Linked DNA regions of Homo sapiens: regions 1, 2, 4, 5, 6 and 7 are each linked to region 3. The links are contacts of gene promoters, found by promoter capture Hi-C in blood cells and fetal thymus (Javierre and others, 2016). All regions are on one chromosome and are shown on one strand. The core of a region is centred on a gene start or on the middle of the fragment in contact, and the rest is flanking DNA. Distances in the headings are between cores, read along the strand shown. Region 1 overlaps COMMD9 (COMM domain containing 9). Region 2 overlaps PRR5L (proline rich 5 like). Region 3 holds the start of TRAF6 (TNF receptor associated factor 6). Region 4 has its middle 3.3 kb from the start of PRR5L. Region 5 overlaps PRR5L (proline rich 5 like). Region 6 overlaps PRR5L (proline rich 5 like). Region 7 overlaps PRR5L (proline rich 5 like).

What was found. The method cuts DNA at HindIII sites, captures the fragments that hold promoters and counts their contacts. A CHiCAGO score of 5 or more calls a contact.
Region 1: a contact is called between a fragment that was not itself captured here and the fragment with the promoter of TRAF6 in region 3, in 11 of 17 cell types (neutrophils, non-activated CD4 T cells, total B cells and 8 more). The highest score is 14.8, in neutrophils.
Region 2: a fragment that was not itself captured here is called in contact with the fragment with the promoter of TRAF6 in region 3 in 1 of 17 cell types (neutrophils); the score reaches 6.0 in neutrophils.
Region 4: a contact is called between a fragment that was not itself captured here and the fragment with the promoter of TRAF6 in region 3, in 17 of 17 cell types (neutrophils, total CD8 T cells, total B cells and 14 more). The highest score is 24.8, in neutrophils.
Region 5: a contact is called between a fragment that was not itself captured here and the fragment with the promoter of TRAF6 in region 3, in 1 of 17 cell types (neutrophils). The highest score is 7.0, in neutrophils.
Region 6: a contact is called between a fragment that was not itself captured here and the fragment with the promoter of TRAF6 in region 3, in 2 of 17 cell types (neutrophils and non-activated CD4 T cells). The highest score is 10.0, in neutrophils.
Region 7: a contact is called between a fragment that was not itself captured here and the fragment with the promoter of TRAF6 in region 3, in 1 of 17 cell types (neutrophils). The highest score is 6.2, in neutrophils.

Annotation. Positions count from the first base shown.
Region 1 is chr11:36,272,727-36,275,900 of GRCh38, reverse strand. COMMD9 (COMM domain containing 9) reads left to right here. Exons shown (of 6, transcript NM_014186.4): 6 at 1,129-3,174. The coding sequence ends at 1,269. Among named protein-coding and RNA genes, the nearest start is that of COMMD9, 15 kb to the left of the region's middle. The HindIII fragment of the contact is 1,272 bases long and covers 709-1,980 here.
Region 2 is chr11:36,376,992-36,380,105 of GRCh38, reverse strand. All of the region lies in intron 1 of PRR5L (proline rich 5 like), which reads right to left. Among named protein-coding and RNA genes, the nearest start is that of PRR5L, 82 kb to the right of the region's middle. RefSeq lists a silencer at 2,597-2,746 and an enhancer at 2,340-2,911. The HindIII fragment of the contact is 4,948 bases long and covers 1-3,114 here.
Region 3 is chr11:36,509,014-36,512,122 of GRCh38, reverse strand. TRAF6 (TNF receptor associated factor 6) reads left to right here and starts at 1,851. Exons shown (of 7, transcript NM_004620.4): 1 at 1,851-2,075. It also overlaps a transcript of RAG1 not described here. RefSeq lists an enhancer at 1,983-2,032. The HindIII fragment of the contact is 10,105 bases long and covers 1-3,109 here.
Region 4 is chr11:36,291,331-36,294,573 of GRCh38, reverse strand. No RefSeq gene overlaps it. Among named protein-coding and RNA genes, the nearest start is that of PRR5L, 3.3 kb to the left of the region's middle. The HindIII fragment of the contact is 2,854 bases long and covers 359-3,212 here.
Region 5 is chr11:36,358,671-36,361,907 of GRCh38, reverse strand. The region is part of intron 1 of PRR5L (proline rich 5 like); the gene reads right to left. Among named protein-coding and RNA genes, the nearest start is that of PRR5L, 64 kb to the right of the region's middle. The HindIII fragment of the contact is 8,514 bases long and covers 1-3,237 here.
Region 6 is chr11:36,308,323-36,311,472 of GRCh38, reverse strand. The region is part of intron 1 of PRR5L (proline rich 5 like); the gene reads right to left. Among named protein-coding and RNA genes, the nearest start is that of PRR5L, 14 kb to the right of the region's middle. The HindIII fragment of the contact is 4,413 bases long and covers 1-3,150 here.
Region 7 is chr11:36,336,044-36,339,467 of GRCh38, reverse strand. All of the region lies in intron 1 of PRR5L (proline rich 5 like), which reads right to left. Among named protein-coding and RNA genes, the nearest start is that of PRR5L, 41 kb to the right of the region's middle. The HindIII fragment of the contact is 3,974 bases long and covers 1-3,424 here.

The sequences.
Region 1 (3,174 bases), core at 95-2,594, 240 kb after region 3:
AGGTAACCCTATACTCTTAGCAGTTTAGCTTTAACAATAGTAGTGTGCTTCCAGATTTTGAATAGCCTGCCCGATCATTTCAGTGTACTTCAGCAACTTCTTGTCCAGTGATTAGGCTGTCATTATTTGTAATGTGGCTGCTCAAGAGTTTCTACTAGTCGCTGGGAGCAGTGGCTTACGCCTGTAATCCCAGCACTTTGGGAGGCCGAGGTGGGTGGATCATGAGGTCAAGAGATCAAGACCATCCTTGCCAACATGGTGAAACCGCATCTCTACCAAAAATGCAAAAATAAGCCGGGCGTGGTGGCGGGCTCCTATAGTCCCAGCTACTCAGGAGGCTGAGGGAGGAGAATCGCTTGAACCAAGGAGGTGGAGATTGCAGTGAGCCGAGATCACACCACTGCACTCCCACCTGGTGAAAGAGTGAGACTCCGTCTCAAAAAAAAAAAAAAAAGTTTCTACTAGCAGCTGGAGAAGTGTCAGGTCTTCATTTTCTTGCTCACATACCTTTGCTTCATTGGTGTTGTCTTCATTTTATAGTTATTTTCAGGAATCTTTTTAAGCTACATATCCATATTGTAGTGTTTGTTTAGTTAAAACTAGAAATGTAATGCTGTATCTACATAACCAGACACCCAGAAAGTTACCACTTGTAAGAAAATGAAGAAGGGTGCCTCTAGCAATTAAGTTTTAAATATTAGTGAAGCTTAACTTCTTTATTTTTTAAAACTAAAGGTTGTAAGATTGTTCCTGCATCCCAATGCAGGATTGTCTGAAGTATCCAACAGAACCTGCTCCTTAAAGTACCAATGTAAACACACGTAATGTTTTCTTGCTTGAATGCTGAGAGTTAGGGTATCAGAGAGGTGAGTGAGCCTTGGCTTGGCCTTCTTTGATACCTACCCAAGGCACTTGTTGCAAATGGAGACTGACCCAGGCCTCTGAGGTATCTCCTGTACTCTCCCTTACTGCTAAATGACCCAAGGGCTGGTACTCTCTAGTGCTTAGGAAAGAGCCTCTCTTCAGAGGTTCAGCAGAACTGAGCTCAGCCTCGCAGGTTCAGGGCTCACTTACAGGGATATGGGAAAAGAGGCAGCTTTGACTTTCTGGGCTGTGTTCTCGTTTCAGATCCAAGAAGATCCCAGCCTATGCGGAGACAAACCCTCCATCTCAGCTGTCACCGTGGAGCTGAGCAAAGAAACACTGGACACCATGTTAGATGGCCTGGGCCGCATCCGAGACCAACTCTCTGCCGTGGCCAGTAAATGATCCAGCCAGCTGCCAGGGCCACTGCCATGACCCAGCTGCTCATGAGTGATAAATGTCTCCCCATATGCAGGCTGCCCTTGCAGCTGCAGCTGACAACAGGCAGGATGGTGGGGACAGCAGGGGGCTACTGCCATCCAGAAGTTACAGTTGGATTGGGAAGAAGCAGCCAGATCCCCCGCTGTTCTCACTCATCTTCTTTCTCTTTCTGAAGCTGGAGAGCAGAAGCCCCCATCTTTGAAAAGCTCCTGAGTGCAACTTAATTACCACCATGGCAGGGTGAGGGAACATTTGCATCGTCAGCTGCCTCTGCATAGCTGTTTGAGAAATTCAGGCCCAAATCATGCAGCCTATCCAATAAGTAAGTTTATTTCCAACATTAGCTCTAATTAGTTCATTTCCAATCCCAGAACACATGGAGGGAATCGGACAGGTGATGCCAGCAGTTCCTGCTCCTCTGTCAGGGAAGCCAGGCAGAGCCCACAGAGCATGGTCCATCCAGAGTGTTCCCTGAGCCCCCTCCACCATACTGGAACCCCTCTTCAGTGTAGGAAGTCTGAAATGGGTGCTAATTCCCTTCTTCATGAAACCAGGGCCCTCTTCCTTCATCTAATGCAGCCACTCCTAGGTGAAGAAGTGGGAATAATTGGAACTAAACAACAGTTCTAAAACTTCCATGATTTTTGTAGCTTCTTTTGTCCCCAAGTTGAAGCTTTTGGCCAGTACCTTCTCTAGTTTTTAAAGATGATCCCAACTTCCTAATTCCCAGCTAAGCCCTTGACCCATGGTGTGACATGAAATCAGGCAATTGAATCGCACCACTTTCTGTGTTTTCACCTGTTACGTAGAACAAAAGGAAGCAAGGTGGCCAGGCGCAATGGCTCACGCCTGTAATCCCAGCACTTTGGGAGGCCGAGGCAGGCAGATCATGAGGTCAGGAGATCGAGACCATGGTGAAACCCCATCTCTACTAAAAATACAAAAAATTAGCTGGGCGCGGTGGCGGGCATCTGTAGTCCCAGCTCCTCGGGAGGCTGAGGCAGGAGAATGGCGTGAACCTGGGAGGCAGAGCTTGCAGTGAGCCGAGATCGTGCCACTGCACTCCAGTCTGGGTGACAGAGAAGGACTCGTCTCAAAAAATAAAAATAAATAAAAAGGAAGCAAGGCTAATCATCAGTATGTGCTTGTTACAAGAGCTATGATGAAGGCACTCCTTCGAGTTTAACCAAATGAGATCATCTCTGTCATGTGCCTCACGCCTCACAGGGACTCCATGTGTGAAGATTCCCCCTTCACTCACCAGATCATCTCCATGGCAACAGCTTGCAGCCTGCTCTTGGAGTGCTTTGTTTTGGCAGCTTCTCTGCTAGTTTGTGTATGGAGTGAATGGAGGAGGTAAATCCACAGATTAAGAATATGCTGTCAGGAGTCAGGCAGCCAAGGTCAGAAGCCAGCTCTGCTTCTCAGTGGTAAGGTGCTTGACTTCTACATCTCAATTTTCACCCACTTTGTACTTTTTTCCTAAATTAAATGAGTATAATAGTAGTACCTACTTGATAGGACTTTTGTGAAAATTAAATGATATAATGCACCTAAAAACAGTACTGTTACAACTAATAGGAAAGGCTTTGATTATTAATGGATGAGAGTAGAAAGCTTGGTGCATTTATTGTCTCATCTACTATAACAGAGTTGGTGTGAGAATTAGTATTATCATCCTCCCTTTATTGACCAGGAAACCAGCTCATTGAGATTGAGTCATCTGCTGGTAAATGGTCTCATTAAGAGGTGGACCCATATTTCTCTAGCTTTCTCTTTACAACACAGGACTTTGCAAGGAACATATAATTCTGTGACTAGCGCCATTTGGAAAATGTTGAAACTGAAGTAGAGATGAGAGATCTTACG
Region 2 (3,114 bases), core at 256-2,755, 130 kb after region 3:
CTTCCATGTGAACCACTAGGATTTTCTTGAGAACTTGGGACCCTGGGTTCTCCATGGAAGGCCTTCAAGGGTAGATATCAAAATGTACTGAAAAGAGCAAGACGCTTGAGTTCATGGCTGTGTGACACTGGGAAATTAACAACCCTCTCTGAGCCTCTGTTTTCTCATCTGAAAATAGAGAAAATAATACCTTCCTACCTGAGTTGTTGGGAGGCGCAAATACCATTACCATAGCTATACCTGACTCACAGAAGTTGCCCAATAAATAAGTCAGCTCATTTGTTTTAACTGTACAAGTTTCAAAGTAAATCTTGGATCCCCAGGTACTGACAAAAATGTGAATTAACTCAAATTCACCTCTGATGCCCCATCACTGCCATCCATCCCCCTCCTTGGCTCCATGTGAAATCTTCTCTTGTAAAACAGTGCTTTCTGCTTATCAGGGTACCGCTCTCTTTGTTCCCCAATTCCAAACCCCATAATATTCTGTACAAAATCCACAAAATATTTTATTCCTATATTTCAGCAACTAAAATATTAATTCACACTGACTTGTTAACAAAGGGTCATTTCTACAAGCATTGCCTTTAACATGTATTTACATTTTACATACAGAGAGGCAACTCTTGAGAACAAACCTTTAATGATGAACATTAGACATTGTAAGGATCTTTCAGAGGAACTCACACACTGTTTTTCAAATCAATTCTGTATTGGGTCTAGCTCTGCAAAAAGAATGAAAAGGAAAAAGGCTGCAATTTAAGAGAGATTTCAGCATATTTTACCTTGTACAAAAGGAACAGCCACAGGAAAACAGACACATGCATACCTACAAATCATTAGTATGGAGAAATCTGAAAAAATTAAGTAATCCACAAAGTCCTTACTGAATTCAATTTTCTACAGATAAATGGCTTTAATGCTGAAGATACATTAAGTCAAGGAGCAAAGTGAGGATTATGATTTAGGTCTGGACTATCAGCAAGAGATTTTCAGATAACCAATATAACAGTTTTCTAAAGACAAGATTAGGGCTTTTTTCCCCAATAACTGAGCCAATTTGTAACATTCTGTGAAATTTTGAAAATAAATAAAAAGCCATCCATCTAATCAACTATAACGTGAGCTAATCAACAATGGAGAATTGAAGGGAAAGACATGTCCAGACTATGAGTCTGGAGTAACAAATCTGTAATCCATTCTCAGCTCCATCCCTGTGTGTATGGCTTTAGACAAATTACTTAAATTCTCCAAGCCTCAGTGGGCTCATCTATATGATAGGGATATAATAGTACCTATATCATTGTTTGCATGAGGAGTATATAATATTATCAAAGTCTCTCAGTGCAAAGTTTAAGACATCATTAAGACCTCAAGAGGCATTTGCACCTTTCCCCTTTTTAAAACAAGTGGCACATATTTGTAATGTTCTAAGACAGAACATTATTGAAATTTCACCCACAGAAATAAATATATATCCATGGCCCTCTGGACCTGAAAGAAATGAGGTCCCACCCTTGAGAAACAAAGTAGTCTAAACTAAGCCTTTGAGAAATAAGCTAGTTAGACTTTCTTATTTCTAGTGCCTTTCTTCTTTTACATATTAGTGGTTCCAGTTGTTAGAAGCATCAGTAACATACTCAAAGAACAATGGTTGCAGTTGGAAAAACTGAAGACAACTTTGTGGATTGACCAAGCATCACTTCCCTTATCTGAAAGGCTACATGCTACAGAAACCGCTCTAAACAGCACCCTTGATCCTGATTCTAGGGCTGCAACCAGAGAAGACTAACCAGCCAGGTTCCACAGACAGGAGCCCTGCACCTTCGTCAGTCATACTGGGAACCTTACCAGGGGCTAAATTTTAAATGTGGCTAAATTAGTTTCTGCAAGCTCCATTTCCCCTCCTGACCCGCTAGCTGCTTCGTGTTGTCAGTAACAGCGCCTTCCACCCCAGAGCAATTTACCACAGCTCAGCACTTTGACATTTTGCAGTATGTAGGGCAATGAAATGTCATGACTGCAAATTTCTACGGTGGTCAGGATCACCAAAGAGAGGTCAAAAAGGGTAGTCTCCCGGGCTTGATCAGCAAGGGTCCCTTGAGGATGGTGGGGGATGAAGGCAGTACATTGGGCCGGTGGCATCCCTTTGGTCCTTAGCATGGGTCATCTGAATGTGCACGTGTCGTCTGGGCAACAGGTCCAGAATTCTGCCCAAGCAGGGAAGCCCGGAGATTCCAGCCCAGAGCTTTTTCCACGCGGGTCTCCGGGGCAGACGTGCAGCTCAGACGCAGCGCGTGAACCTTTCGTCTTGTGGGGCGCATCGCAGTAATTGAAACCTTGCGCACCGCAGGACTGCCGTGGCGTCTATAAATACTCACCGCCTAACTGCTGACAAACAAAACGCGGGCTCCCGGCACCGCGGGGGAAGAGGCGGCGGCAGCATGTGACCGAGGACAGGGACTGGGTAGAACTGGGGGTAACCCCTTTTGCCAGACAGGAAGGCATCCCAGAGCGGATTCCTGAAGCACAGTTAGCAAGCACACAGCCTGGTCCCACCCCGGGCGGCGGCCTCAAGGAAAATGGGCCGGAGGGTTGGGCAGGCAGGGTCCCAGCTGCCCGGGCGGGGCCCCTAGAGCGCCCCCTGCGTGCAGCGAGCCCGGCATGCGCGCACAGTAAGCGCGCAGAGGAAAGCCTCGCCGAAAGGAAGGCAGGCGGGAGAAATAAAACGGAAGGGGGATACTGCGGACTCCCAGCGCGGGGTCCGCAGCCGGGCCGTCCCAGGGCTTGCTCACAGCCCGTCCCGGCGGGATCCCCACTGGCTGGGCCCTGGCCCACCCTAGTCCGCAGAGCGCGCGCGTGCAGCAGCGCACGGGACAAAGTGGCTCCCTGCCCTGCCCTTCTCTCCCACGCCTCCCTCCAGAAAAAGGGGGACCGCCGGGAAAAGGCTGCTGCAGGCGCGAAATCTCCCGTGCTTAAGCGGGGTCAGCTCTTTAGATTTGCCCCCCAGAGGGAGAACGAGAGAGTCAAACAAGCCGACTTTCTTTTTCGACCTCCCGGCTCAGCCTAGGTCCCATGATCACCAGCATCCGCATCCCACCTCACGGCGGTACT
Region 3 (3,109 bases), core at 602-3,101:
CCCAAGGCATGGATGAGCACTAAAACTCTCTCCTATATTGAATAAATTGGATTTGAAGGAGTAGGAAAAGGCCCCTTGAGGGCACTTATGAAAACAATGTAAAGAAACATACACAGAACACCTAATCTTTTTGAAAGCCTGGTGCTGGAGTCTCTCACAATAGATTTTTATTATTTTATACTGACAAAAGCCTGGTAAGGTAGACATTATCCCCTTTTTTATAGTTTTTGGTCATTGTAGTTCATGGAGGTTATGTAACCTGCCCCAGAGCTCACACTAAGAAGTGGAGGGAACTCTGATTCTCTTGCTCTTCCTTTTCTCCAGCTCTCAATTTCATATAATGATCTTTTCTTCCATCCCATAAGAGATTTAATTTTTAAGAGGAGCTTCTAGGGAGGGATACACAAAGGCTGGCAATGTTTTATTTTTTAAAGCTGGGTGGTGAGCACACAGATGTTTGTGCTCTTTTTATGTCTTAAGTGTTTCAAAATACAATCTTTTAAAAGGGGGTTGACAGAACCTGAGAACCAGTGATAAATTCTTCTTAAAAAGAGAAGCATTTTTAATGAATATTGGCAGCCAGAAAGTAGGACATATAGTATTGGTAACATTTATTGAGCCCATACTATGTCCTAGTTTTGGGTTTATTTGTTTGTTCGTTTGTTCCTTGAGACAGGGTCTCACTCTGTCACCCAGGCTGGAATGCAGTGGTGCAATCATGGCTTACTGTAGCCTTGACTGCCAGGGCTCAAGCCATCCTCCCACCTCAGCCTCCAGAGTAGCCGAGACTACAGATATGCACCACCACACCCAGGTAATTTTTAAATTTTGTGTAAAGATGGGGTCTCACTATGTTGCCCAGGCTGGTCTCAAATTCCTGGCCTCAAGTGATCCTCCTGCCTTAGCCTCCCAAAGTACTGGGATTATAGGCATGAGCCTATTTGTGCCTGGCCAGATAGTTTTAAATAATTTCTTTACATATTTTATCTCATCCTTCCAACAACCCTGTGAGGTAGATACTATTATTATCCCCATGTTAATACGAGATGAGAAAACTGAAACAAGTACAGATTAAGTATTTTACCTGAATCACACATTTATTGTAGGAAAAACCGGATTGGAACCAAGCATTCTGGCTTCAGGATACATACGCATGACTACTATCCTGGAAAACCTCCCCTAAGAGGTGGACGATGAACCAAATATGCAGAGGTGGATGAAACTCTTTTGTGCTTCTCCAGCAAAACGCGTGGTACATTCTCTAGACGTTTATGACCAGTTAAACAGGGAATTTAAAATAGTTTTCCCATGACAGAGAAAGACAAAGCGCTGGTGTTCTTGGCAGGAAATTCAAAGAAATATTTAAGGCAAGGGCTGACTCCCTTGGACCGGATGAAGGGGAAGAGCAGGTAATAATAGAGGGTTCTATGGATCGCAGAAACTTCCTGGGCAAGGAGGGTGGAGCTGGGGAGGGGTTTAAGAATTCCTGAAGGTCAAGCGATCTAGCCCAGCTGGGGTTTTCTCCTGCTTGGAGAGGGGTGCTATAAAAGCGCAGTTTGGGATTACTACTGTCGCCACTGCTCACCAAATTAAGTTATTCCGGGAGGGATCTTCTCGTCGCCATCCTCATTCCAACACACACCCATTGACACACTCGGGTTCGGCTGTGCGGTGCAACGAATTCCCAGGTGGGACACCCGAGCAGGAAGAAAGCCAGGCTGCGGGGCTGGGGGCGCCGCCCGGCCCGCGCCACAGTCCGCCTGGAGGATCACCGCCAGGGGGCACTCTCTCCGAACTCGGCCGCTCTGTCTCCTCCCCGGCGCGCTCCCTGCCCCTCGCTCCCCGCAGCCAGCAGAGAAGGCGGAAGCAGTGGCGTCCGCAGCTGGGGCTTGGCCTGCGGGCGGCCAGCGAAGGTGGCGAAGGCTCCCACTGGATCCAGAGTTTGCCGTCCAAGCAGCCTCGTCTCGGCGCGCAGTGTCTGTGTCCGTCCTCTACCAGCGCCTTGGCTGAGCGGAGTCGTGCGGTTGGTGGGGGAGCCCTGCCCTCCTGGTTCGGCCTCCCCGCGCACTAGAACGGTGAGTCTCCTTCAGGCGCCTCCTCCTGGCGGCCGCCGCCTCGCTTCCCAGCGGTCAGGGACGCCGCCCCCCGCCCCTTCGCTCTCGGCAGGTCGGGGACGCAGTCCCTGTCCCCTCGCTTCCCACCAGTCGGGGACGCCTCCCCTGTCCCTTCGCTTTTCACAGGTCAGGGACGCCGCCCCTACCCGCTTGCTTCCCACGGGTCGGGGACGCCGCCCCTGTCCTCTCGCTTCCCGCTGGTCGAGGACACCGTTCCCTGCCCCTCGCTTCCTGCAGGTCGGGACGCAGCCTCTGTCCCCACGCTTCCCACAGGTCGGGGACACCGTTCCCTGTCCCCTGACCTCTGCTCCCCAGGCCTCCTCTTCCTCGCTCATTCCACCCCCTAAAAAACCCCGCGTCGCCTTACTCAACCTCGCTCCCCTCAACTCCGCTTTTTCCCCTTCCCAGATAAGGAAATTGCCTCCTGCAGTTGTCCGCTCCTTGGAGCAAACACCTGCTTAAATTTTTAAAAAATCCTTTACGTTCCTGGCGACTCCGGCTGTCACTGTCATGGGAAAGCTATTTTTGGATTCCCTGTTGAACTCTATAGAAGTCTCAGGCAGCGAGTTTAAAAAAAAAAAAAGGCTCAGATGACACGAATGTTTTCTCCCCCGCCCCTAAACTCGGTAGTTCGAGCGATTGTTCCAGACGCCGGGTTGATAAAGCTGTTCCTAGTATTTGGCTTAAGGGGAACTCCAGCTGAGTTAGGACTGTCTTGAATGTGAACAGAAAGCACCTAAATAAAGTATTAGCAGCTTCGCTGTATGGTATTTAATTGTTTCTTTCTCTGAGAGCAGATTACTATTACTGAATGTCTTGTTACACAGGTTCCATGTAGAAACGAGAAAAACTGGTAAAGAAATTCTGTGTTGGCCTTGTGAACTTGGCCGCTATCATTTCATTCATTCTCCTTTGATTACTAGGGAAGGGAGAGGGGCTTTTCAAATTTTGAGGTTGAGTGTATAGGCAGGAACAATGTGGCCTCTTTTGTGACT
Region 4 (3,243 bases), core at 536-3,035, 220 kb after region 3:
CTATGAGCAACACATTTCTGTTGTTGATAAAGCCACCCAGTTTATGGTATTTTGTTATATTAGCCCATATGGACTAAGACGACTGGTGAGCTGATCAGGCCACGTCAAAGCCACAAAGGGGGCATAAAGTCAAAAAGATTGATCAGCCCTTTCCCCCTGCAACCCACCCTCATCTCTGGACTGAGACAAAGGTGAGGAAAAGGGAAACTAGGGGAATAACAGGAGGGTGGCAAGGGCTCTCCTTAAAGGACTGCAGGACCCTGGGCCTAATCCACCTCCTGCAGGCATTCCTCTGACAAAGAAGGCAGCCAGGACTTAGTAGTGAAACCAAAGGGGAGAATAGGAGTTTATTTAAGCTTCCATAACCTTCATCAGTTACCTCAAATGAACCAAAGTAGCGTAAGTGACAAAATGTGTTTGCTATGCAAATGCACCTTAAAAACAAGACTGCTCACAATGAGATACCACTTCATACCCGCTAAGATTGCTATAATCAAAAAGACAGAACCAGTTACAAAATGTGTTTGATATACCAATGCAACTTCAAAACAAGACGGCTCACAATGAGATACTACTTCATACCCACTAGGATCACTATAATCAAAAAGGCAGAGCCAGATGCAGTGGCTCCCATCTGTAATCCCAGCTACTCAGAAGGCTGAGGCAGGAGGATCGTTTGAGGCCAGGAGTTTGAGACCAGCCTGAGCAACATAGCAAACATATGTTTTAGAGACAAAACATATTTTTTGTCTCTAAAACAAATAAAATCAAATTAGCTGGGTATGGTTGTGCATGCTTGTAGTCCCAGCTACTCAGGAGGCTGAAGTGGGAAGATCAGTTGAGCCCAGGAGTTTGAGGCTACAGTGAGCCATGATTACACCACTGTACTCCAGCCTGGGTAAAAGAGCAGAGACCCCCATCTCTCTGTCTCTTTTTTTTTTTAAACAAATGTTGGTGCAGATGTGGAGAAATTGAAACCCTTATACATTGCTTCTGGGGACTGTAAAATGGTGCAGTCACTTTGGAAAATGGTCTTACACTTCCTCAAAAGGTTAAACACAGAGTAATCATATGGCCCAGAAACTCCACTATTCCACTCTTCAGTGTATACTCCAAGAGAAATGAAACACATGTTCACACAAAAACTTTGTACATGATTGCTCATGGCAGCATTACTCACAACAGCTAAAAAGTAGAAACAACTCAAATGTCTACAACTGATGAATGAACAAACTATGGTATATCTGTACAAAAAAATATTATTCAGCAAAAAACGAATGAAGTACCGATACAGGCTATAACATGAACGAACCTTGAAGAAGTTTCTCCTCTTATGCTAAGTAGAGGAAACGAGTACAAAACATATGATATGTGGTCTTTTGTACTCGTTTCCTTTACTTAGTATAAGAGGAGAAACCGTATCATATGATCCAATTCATGGGAAATGTCCAGAAGGCAAAACCATAGAGACAGAAAGCAGATTAGCGATTGCCTAGGGCTGGGTGTGATGGGGAGAATTGGGGGCAGAGGTGGGTGTTGATAGCTAAAGGATATGCTGTTTCTTTTGGGGATGATGAACATGTTCTAAAATTAATTGTGGTGATAGTTGGACAACTCTGTGAGTATACTAAAATTCATCGAATTTTACACTTCAAATGGATAAATTGTATGGTATGTGAATGTTAATTCTATTTCAATAAAGCTACTATAAAAAAACCCTCAATACTAAGATTGCTGCCCTTAATCATTTTCTACTAATAAATTCTGTGTCCATATCCCTTGCTTCATATCTGCCCCACTGGAGAAATCAGGGCAAGTGTTCCAAAAGGCTGGTTTCCCCCAAGGCTCAGGGCTCAAACTTGGGTGACTAACTGGCCTGGTTTGTCCAGAACTGTCCCAGCGCTAGCCCTGAAAGTCCTGCATCCAAGGAAACCCCTCATCCCTGGGAAAACTGGGATGGCCAGTCCCCCTCGTGCAAACCCTTGCCCACAACAGGGGAAAGCTCTGCCCTTTAGCGTTGCCAATGACTAGAACTGAGAATCCACATAAGCAATCCTTCCCCTTTTGGGGTATAAGTCATCCTTGAGCTCCCCCTAATGGCCAAAAGGTATTTTTATTATTGTTCCCATTTTACGGATGATGAAATTGAGGTTCCAAGAGGGGAAGTAATTTGCTAACAGTACACAGGAGTTGGAAACTGAACCTAGGTCTTTTCCCAAAGCCCAAGGTAGCCCTTCCACTCACTCATTATATTGTTTCTCACCATCACCAGACTGATTGTACAGGAACACTCTTAGATTGTTCTTGCTGCCTGAGGAAGGTAGTCAGACATGCAAAGAGAAGAAACACAAATTTACAGCTGTGGGACAACAAGGAGACATGTACAGCTTGGCGGTTAACAGTGCAGAATCTGGAGCCAGACTGGCCATATTTGAATCTGGGCTTTGCCACTACTTAGCTGTGTGACCTCAGACTACTTAATCTGCCTATGTCTGTTTCTCCATATGTAAAATGGAAACAATACAGTGTGTGTGCTTATATATGTATATGTACTTATGTGTGTGTGTACATATGTGTGTGTATGTATATACATACGTATATATATAATATCATAGGATAGGAATGGGAAGTAAATTAATCAGTAAATGTAAGGGCTTAGAACAGAGCCGGGCACATAACAAGTTTATTAAATAAATGAAAGTCAGCACTGATTCCTATATTCAGAATTGGAAAGAAATTAGGTTTGGCCTAATGAAAACCAGGCAATGGGACCAAATCACAGAAATGAACTCCGACATTCTGTTTTGTTCCCACCCATGAAAATGTTTATGGTTTAGAAATTGCTGGACATTCTGCAGACCACAGACAAACCTTTACATGCAACATGGCATTGGCAATCTGGGCAGCCCTACCAAAATGGGATGACATGGTGCCATTCATATCATACCAGCCCGCGAGAGTAAGGAGAGCTGGGAATCCTCCCACTGAAGCAGCTCCTGTCGCTCAGCTCTGCTCTCTGAACTAGATGGGTGTGATGAACACCATTTTACAGAGGTGGAAACTGAGGCCCAGAGAAGTTCAAGAATTTGTACACGGAAAAGTTAATAATGTGTAGAATTAGGATTCCAACTCAGGTTGAATTCTAAAACCCCTATGCTTTGCTGCCACCATGCATTAGTTACTATTGCTGTATAACAAATTACTTCAAAGCTTCATAGCTTAAAACAACAAACATTGATAATC
Region 5 (3,237 bases), core at 163-2,662, 150 kb after region 3:
ACCTCTCCCAAGCCCCTCGAGGGAAGAGAGGCTCGCGATCTCTCTTTAACAGCCATTCCATTTTAGAAAACCACAAGAGTTAGATATAACCTAGAACCTGCTGCTCTAAAACAAAGGAGAAAAACAAGTAAAAACAAGTGACTTGTGTTAGGTCACACTTAGGAAAATTCTGCAGAAGTCCAAGGGTAATGAAAAAGGTTGTCTCTTTACCTCATTTTTTTCAGTAGACATTGATTTGCCCACATAAATGAACAAGTATAAGCAAACACACTATCGTTTGATCACATTCCCACAATGATTTCTTTCCTCTGGTAGAAACAGTAAATACCTAGAGATCAGTGACTCAAACTTTTTGAACTCAGTAACCCTTTAAAGTCTTAGAAATTATTATGAGCCTTAAAGTCTTTTGTTTTTATAAGTTATATCTGTTGATACTTAACATATTAGAAACTAAAACTGAGAAAATCCTTGGTTATTTATTAATCGATTTAAAAATAATTTTAAAAGCCATTACAAATTAACATAAGTAATGTATTTTTATGAAAAATAGCTATATTTTCCAAAAGCAAAAGGTATATATAGCAAGAAAAGTGGCTTTGTTTTTTATTTCTGCAAATCTCTTGAATATCTGGCCTAAGAGATCTGGATTCTCGTATCTGCTGTGCACTTAGTCTGTTGCAATACCAATGCCATGTCACCTCCGGAAAACTCCACTGTATACTTGTGTGAAAATCAGAGTAGAAAAGGCAAATAATATATTAATGTTGTTAGTCTTGTTAAAATAGTTTTGAGCTCATGGACCTCCTAAAAGGATCTCAAGCAACTAAGATGAGTTACATAGGTGGGGACCAGTGCAAAGTGAAAGTGCTGTTTCTTGTCCAAAAGTTATAAAGCATTTCAAGACAGCCACAGCAGAACATTGAACTGAGCTCTGAGCATGGGGCCCTGCGTGACTTCACAGTTCCTGCAGGCAACTTCAGGGGTCTCTGACCACATGTCGAGAACTGCTGCTGTAGAGTTATACTTGCTTCTTGAATCAAATGAGTGGCTTAAGACAATTAGTGTACACCAGGGTGATATCAAGTTAGGAGTGTGTGCATGTATGTGTGTTTGAGCTGCTGGATCACCAGGTGTAAGTGTTCTTGAGTAATAACATATACCTAACAAGATAAAAGCATGACTTACACAGATTTTCCCCCTGGGTGTATATCATAAAACCTTACCCTCTTATTCAGCCTATTATTCCACACTGACCCTAAACATACACACACACATGCATTTATGCATGCACACACATACGCCTTGAGCTGATGGCTTGCATGCATGTGGGTGTGTGTGTTACATGTGCGATGTTACATGTGCACATACCCCTTTGTGTTCCAAATGGCTGCACACCAGATAGTCAGATATTTGTCATGGTTTCCTGTTTTGGGTTTTTATTGGGTGACAGGCTTTGATCAGCAAAACTGACATCTCTCGTCCCCATTTTCCTGTTTGGTACCTTATACATAGTAGGCACTCTAAGCATTTGCTGAGTTATATTTTATAACTCTGGTGGTTAGAGAAAATTATGCTTATTAAATACTGTTAGCAACTGATGGTTAGCACATAGATATCCCATTTGATCCTCCTTCCTGAGAACTCAACACTTAGGGAGGTAACCATCCCACTAATAATAGGTAGACTTGTCCAGAGAAGAACAGTATGTCATTGTCATTCTACTAGACACAAGGTAGCAATATTTCATGATTCTCCTGAGATTCAGGCATGAATTTAGCTAATAAAGAACATAAGTTTTCTGTTTTGTGTGTCTGTGTGTGTGTGTGTGTGTGGGTGTGTGTGTATGTGTGTGTGTGTGTGTGTGTGTGTGTGTGACAGAGTCTCACTCTGTCGCCCAGGCTGGAGTGCAGTGGCATGATCTCGGCTCACTGCAACCTCTGCCTCCCAGGCTCAAGCAATTCTTATGTCTCAGACTTCCTAGTAGCTGGGACTACAGGCGCGCATCACCATGTCCAGCTGATTTTTGTATTTTTAGTAGAGATGGGGTTTTGCCCTGTTGGCCTTCAAACTCCTGACCTCAGGTGATCCACCCACCTCGGTCTCCCAAAGTGCTGGGATTACACGGGTGAGCCACTGCACTCGGCCAGGCTTCTGAAGTATTTAAAACAATGCCCTATAGTTTCTGTTATAGACCAGTCTGGATTTATCCCGTCTCTGTCTCTGTTGATCCGCTCCTTTGGGACATACTGTTAGTGTCTTCATGGCATCTGCTCTGGAATCATCATGTCTGTATCTTATCTGTTATTTTCTACGTTTTAATGAAAGTGTTACACTAATTGCTGACATCTTTGCATCATTATTGATTGTCAGCATTTGATCACAAACATTTGTGTCTTCCTAAAGAACAAAACACCAGAATAAAATGATAATTAATATGTAAAAAAATTAAAATTAAAATTAATGCCCTAGACTCCAGTAACAAATTAATCCATTTCAAAGAATAGTATACACTTGTATAAATATAATGTGGACTCTATTACAATTCTGGTCAAATCACCTCTCTCTCCAACACCGAAGGAAGTGACTGTGGCCTCTCTCCCACGCTAAGACAAAATCTTTCAATAAGAGGATTAATCTTTCACCTAAAATGGCAGAACATCCTTCTATTCTCATTAGAAGTTAATACCGCTTCACGTACAAAGGACCCCTGGATCTTTAGTTCAAATCTGCCACTTACAGATGAGGAAACTGAGGCTCAGCGACATGAAGTGACTTATTTGTCCAAAATCACACACAGCTATTTAATGGCAGCACTGGGACTCAAATGCAGTTCTCCTAGCATTAGATAAAGGACCATCCAACCACAAGAATATGAGCCTGCAAGTCAGTGTGGGTCCACGTTACTGAAAATCCAACCACTGATTACTAAAAATCCAAGCACTGATGTATCAGGGATTGTCAATAAGTAAAATGCAAAACATCTCCAAATCTAGCCAGGTGCCAAAGCCCTTAACCAGTGCCCTGAGCACTATCGCCTCCCAGATGTATGAAGTATCTTTCCTTCCTCTTCAGTATCTTCATCCTCTTCCCCTTTGCCAGCCCTTTTTCTTACTTCCATTGTGTATTTATCACCTTGGGAAGAAGAAAAAACAAACCTCTACATGGCTGGCTACTCCTTGTAGTTGTAATTCTATTTCTTTCCTGACAGTTACTGCCAAATTCTTGGAAGTTATATAC
Region 6 (3,150 bases), core at 579-3,078, 200 kb after region 3:
CAGCATAGCCTACCAACCCATGAGGGGGCCAAGCAGGGAGGCCTTTGCTTCTTTGGCTGGGCCCATTAGGAGCCAAGCAATAGCCCACTCTACCAAGACATTTGCTCCCCTGGCTCTGCCCCATCCAAGCCAGAAATGCTTGCCTGAAGTTGTGAAAATGTCCTGTTGGTGCTAGATATGTCACCAAGAGGTGATATTTCTTCTTCTACCTCTTTAAGGTTTTTACTAAAAACTGCTATGCCAAGCAGCCACGCCTTAGAATGGGACTAGCACTGAACAAAATGAGAATTAAGAAACTTTGAACACCCTTGACATCCTTTCCTTCCCTAAACTCAATTGCTGCATTCTCAAGCTCTTCCTTCCTCCCATTCTCCCTGTAATTGATGCTATGGGGTGCATTATGCTCATGCACATGGAAGGCCAGAAAATTCAGGACTGATATTCCTGGGAACATTCTTTTTTTTTTTTTTTTTTTTTGGAGACGGAGTCTCACTCTGTCACCAGGCAGAGTGCAGTGGCATAATCTCGGCTCACTGCAACCTCTGACTCCCTGGTTCAAGCGATTCTCTTGCCTTGGCCTCCCGAGTAGCTGGGATTACAGGCACACGCCACCATGCCAAGCTAATTTTTGTATTTTTAGTAGAGACGGGGTTTCACCATGTTCGCCAGGATGGTCTCAATCTTCTGACCTTGTAATCTGCCCACCTCGGCCCCCCAAAGTGCTGCGATTACAGGCGTGAGCCACCACACCCAGCCCCTGAGAACATTCTTAACCAGTGACTAAGGAAGTTGCTGTATAAATATTGCAAGTCCTTTTCCTCTTGTGTGGGAGAACTCTTGGGTGCATGTTCCATGCTGGTTCTGGGAGTCCCCTGGTAGGATTTAGCTTCAGTCACCCACATGGGTAATTTTCTTGACAATTCATCTTTTATTGGCTACTTTCCCTTGCCCACCTAACTTCCTTACTTGTGTAACAGTAACCTTCCAAATAAATTACTTGCATTTGTATCCTTGTCTCAGGGTCTGCTCCTGAGTGAATTCAAACTAAGAGGCTCTACTTCGCCCCTATTAAATGCTCTCTGGGTGGACTCTAATGGGCTCATTCTTATTAAAGTGTAAACAGCTCCTAAGGATCAGGGGAGTGAGTTTCAAAGTGGAAATATACTTAAGGCAGTAGTTCTAAAGCAGTGGGCTGGACACACGGGAGTTCTTGATGCGCTTGCTGCCAAGTTTTGATCTAACGGTAAAATCTATTTTTGCAACAACTGATCGTACTTATTGTTATTCACTGTCAGACAGAGTTGTGAACCGAGAATACCCTTGGGGACAGAGTAAATTGGGGTACCATTTGTAGCACATATGAGTAAAGAAGCCCAGCATTATGTCAAGCCACGGAATGATGATGTGTTCTTTTGAGAGGACACAACAGGCTTCCAGGTCAGGATGGTAAATTGTTCTGCTCTAATAGTGATGGTGGTGGTCGTAGTGGGGATGATGGTGGTGGTGGTAGTGGGGATGATGGAGTCATTCTTTGACATGGAGTCAAAGAATTGCCACATAACTAACGGGATAATCATGGGTGATGTACAGACACTTTGAGACATCATAGAACTGTAAAAGTGACTGTGTTGTCATTATGGTGGACTTGTTGAGTATGGATGAGTCTCTTCATCCCTTTAATCTGAGAAGTGTGCCAAAACACACATACAAAATCTTTAATTGTGGCTTTCAGATCACAGCCAGTGAGAGGGATCTGGAAGAAAGAGAAGACAAGGAAACATTTTTGGAGACTTTGAAATCATATACCACCACCACCATCATCATCCCCACTACCACCACCACCATCATGCTCACTACCACCAACAGTAAAAGACTTGGTTCCAAATAAGGAATGTTTAAACTGACTGTGATATTCAGTTCTCAGGTTTACCTGTTGATTTTCTTTGAAGAAAATCCCATCACTAAATGTACAGTTTGAAAACCATAGATATGCCTGATAATTTTATTCTTAAAACTACCATTAACTTGCAGGTGAGGAAAGTAAAGTTGAGAGAAATTAAATGACATGCCTGAAGCCACAGACTAGACGTGAGCTAAACTAGTACACAGCTGTGGTCCAAAACCTCACCATGTCTAGTGCTCTTTCTTCTACATTATTCTACATTTGCGTATTGATGATGAAACACATGGTTTAGTAATTTCTTGGCGTTGATGCTTGTTTTGGTGAGAATAGGTCAGAAAACAGTTTATAGAAAGTTCTTAGAATTTAGGCTGCTCCAAGAAACTCACCAAAACAACTCCAAGTCTTTCCCTCCCTGAGCCATACTTAACACTTGTTATTCCAGGAGCTGCTTCGATGAGACATATTCTCACAGCTTATCTAATTTGTCTACACTCTCCATACACTTTGCTGAATGCCCTCAAATTTCACCTGTATCCGTCTACTATTGCTGCAATACTGCTGCAAAATAAAAACTTTGTGACTGAGGAAAATAAGCCTTTCTTTTTCTCACTTACAGATCTGCAGGTTGACTAGGGCAATTCTGCCTTAGTTCAGGTTTGTGTCTGTTCCATGTGACTAATTCTGGAGCACAGGGAGAAAGGGCAGTGGCTACCCAAGTTATGCTCTTCTGTTGGCTGTCAGAATAGCAGAAGGCCAAGCCAAACAGTGCAAGCATTATTTAAAGCCTCTGATAGAGTCATATCTGATCACATTCCATTGACCAGAACAAGTCAATGCCCAAGCCCAGAGTCAGTGACTCAGGAAGTGTACTGTGTCCCAAGGTGGAAGGGAAATGAGTGAAGATTTACTGAACAATACCTCAATCTATCACATCAGCTAAAATTGTGATTCCCACGAAGGGAGGTCAAGCAGGTCTTTCCAAAGTCCTCTAAATCTAAAATGCAATACTATTAATCAAGTTAGTCCCATAAGCTGCGAGGAGGAGACCATCCCAAAGTGACCTTTCCTGAGACACCCAGGGGGAATGTGTAATGGCACTCTTCCAGGCTAGAGACAGCAAGGTAGAAATTATCTAGTGGAGACCATGGCATTTCAAAAATCAACTACTTCACTTCTAAAAACCTGCCTCAAACCAAACTTTCAAATCCCCTTTCTTTGAGGATTGGGGCCTGAAGATAGAGAGAAAG
Region 7 (3,424 bases), core at 365-2,864, 170 kb after region 3:
GCTTTTATTCCTCAATAAACCAACAGGGATTTACAAAGTACTTAATATATACAAGTTTTAAAACCAGATTCCAAGGCCAGGCATGGTGGCTCACTCCGGTAATCCCAGCACTTTGGGAGGCCAAGGTGAGTGGATCGTCTGAGGTCAGAAGTTTCAGACCAGCCTGGCCAACATGGCAAAACCATGTCTCTACTAAAAATACAAAAATTAGCTGGGTGTGGTGGCCGGCGCCTGTAATCCCAACTACTCAGGAGGCTGAGGTGGGAGAATTGCCTGAACCCAGGAGGTGGAGTGTATTAGTCCATTTTTACACTGCTGATAAAGGCATACCTGAGACTGGGCAATTTACAAAAGAAAGAGGTTTAATTGGACTTGCAGTTCCACATGGCTGAGGAAGGTCTCACAATCATGATAGAGGGCAGAAGGTACTTCTTACATGGTGGTGGCAAGAGAGAATGAGGAGGAAGCAAAAGTGGAAACCCCTGACAAACCCATCAGATCTCATGAGACTTATTCACTATCACGAGAATAGCACGGGAAAGACGGGCCCCCGTGACTCAGTTACCTCCCATTAGGTCCCTCCCACAGCACGTGGGAATTCTGGGAGATACAATTCAAGTAGAGGTCTGGGTGGGGCACAGCCAAACCATACCACGGAGGTCGCAGTGAGCCAAGATCACGCCACTGCACTCCAGCCTGGGCAACAGAGTGAGACTTTGTCTCAAAAAAACCAGATTTCATAGGCAATATGAGGATTTTGAGGAGTGGTCCAACATCTTATTCCATACAAAATTCCCAACACAGAGCATGATGTCACATGTGAACTATGAGGCCAATAAATATTCCCTACATAAGGGGATCCTGCCGTCAGGGAATCTAGAATGAGGGGTTGAAGTGAGGGGTAAGATCTAAGTGTGTAAAAAATTAACAATGAAAGATTTTAGCTTTTCAACTAATCCAAAGAAGAGAAATCCAAGGCAGAAGAGAGTGATTATCTGAAGAGATCTCATGGTCATTTCTAGAAGAGTGCCACGTCAGAAGTCATTTCAGATTCCAGCAATTACGGGAAAGAATCATGGAAACAAAATTACAGCTTGGATGTCAAGCAAGAAAGCATTTCAAGCGGGGTGAATGAATGGAGAGAAAGTGACAAATACAAGGTGTGTTTTAGAGACTGTGAACAAAGGAGCTCAATGGGGATAGAGTATTAAGAACTGCAAGTAAGTAAAGGAAACCTGAAAAGCTGGGTTGATACTTGATTGAGAAAGGCCTTCAATGCCAGGCTATGGTAGAGACTACTAGATGTCTCCCCTTCTTCCTTTTTAACAAGACATCTAATTTATTTTCCTAGCATAGACTGTATTTATCAGCCTTACTGGTAGCTGGGTATGGCCACGTGACAAAGTTCTAAAGAATAAGACTTAAAGGAAAGTCCTATGCACAAATTCTGGAATGTGAACATAATGGCTGAAACTTTGGCACCATCTTAGATCATGAGGCACAATGTTAAAGATGATGAAAGGAAAAGAAAGGGACCAACCTCCCTGATGAATATATCAGCCTGGGACATCTGACCTCTGAACTGTTTCACATTAAAGAAACTTCTTTGTGATATAAGCCATTATTATTTTGGATCTTAACCTGTGCCTGAAATTATTCATAACTGATGAGCAAGCCAAAGACTTCACACTTTCGTCCTGGAGCAGCAGGCAACCATTGGAAGTTTAGGAGCAGGCAGGTTGTAAGATGAATATGTGGTGTGGAGGATACCATGCGGAACAATATGGCAGCAACTGTGCAGGAAGGACGCAAGGAGGCTAAGAGCTCAGAGAGGAAGTTGAGTGCAGCCATTTAGGCAAGAAGAATAAATGAGCATGTGCTGAAACCTGTTTGGAGGTAAAACCATTCTAAGAATTGGGATTTTAAAAAGTCATAAATACACAAGAAAATTTTCTTAGTCCATTTGGAATGCTGTAACAGAATGCCCTAGGCTGAGTAATTTACAAAGAGCATACATTTATTGCTCACAGTTCTGGAGGCTGGGAAGTTGAAGATCAAGATGTTAGAGGGCTAGATGGTGAAGTCTTGCTCACTGCTTCATAGATGGCACCTTTTGCTGAGTCCTCACGTGGCAGAAGAGGGGAGAAGCCGGAAGGGGCAAGTAGACTTCTCTAAGCCCTTTTGTAGGAGCACTAATCCCATTCAGGAGGATGGAGTCCTCATGGCCTAATCACCTCTGAAAGGCCCTCCTTCTTAATACTATTGCATTGGGGGTTATTAATTTTGGGGGGATGACCCATGGGGGAATGACCCATGACCCAGCGACCGTGGCAAATACAATGCATTTTGAAAATGTTGAAAAGGTTGTTGCTTTTTAGCAACAACCTTTATGGCCTAACTCCTCTATGTCTTGGTTTCTTCTTCATCTATATGATAATGGAGATAATAATTTACATGCCAGGATAACTGTAAAGATATTTATTTATTTATATATGTTTGTAGTATACCTGTAATGTGCCCCCACACAGTGCTAGATGCTCAGGATACAGAGGTCGACAAAACTCTTAAGAAACAGAGGTACCCATCTATGAGGGACAAAGCCAATAAGTAAATAATGATATGAGATAATTTCTTCAGTGACAATTGCTATGCAGTTTAGAAAACTATGGTACATAGGTGTATTACAGGTGGCATGCAAGAGGATTCTAAATGGGAAGCAGACATTTTTAATTGTAATAGCTATATGTTTATAACACATCTTAGAAAAATACATGCTTTTCTATTGATGAGAATGACGTTTATTTATTCAACAAACATTACTTAAGCACCTACCAGGTACTAGATTAGGCACTAGGGGAATACAGCAGAGAGCAACACAGAAAAATCCCTGACATACCAGCGCTAGCATTATACCTTAAAAAAAAAAAAAAAAAAAAAAGGCCAGGCGCGGTGGTTCAAGCCTGTAATCCCAGCACTTTGGGAGGCAGAGGCAGGCAGATCACTTGAACCCAGGAGCTCAAGACTGGCCTGGGCAACATGGCAAAACTCAGTCTCTACTAAAAATGCAAAAATTAGCCGGGTGTGATGGTGCATGCCTACAGTCCCAGCTACTTGGGAGGCTGAGGTGGGAGGATTGCTTGAGCCCAGGAGAAGGAGGTTGCAAGTGAGCTGTGATCGTGCCACTGCACTCTAGCCTGGGCAACAGAGACCTCATCTCAAATTAAAAAAAACAATTAGTTTTCTTTTTAAAATACATTTAAGTTTGAAAAAGAGAGTCTATTTTTTAAGTAAACAATGCCTGGTTGGTTGGCAGATATGGCAAAAATGGTGAGGGTGATACAAAATCAGCCACATTTGGATGTGCTGGGTCTGAGGCAGCTCACTAAGTACCCATGGGAAGAAGGGTTGTCCAGGCTGGTGCTCT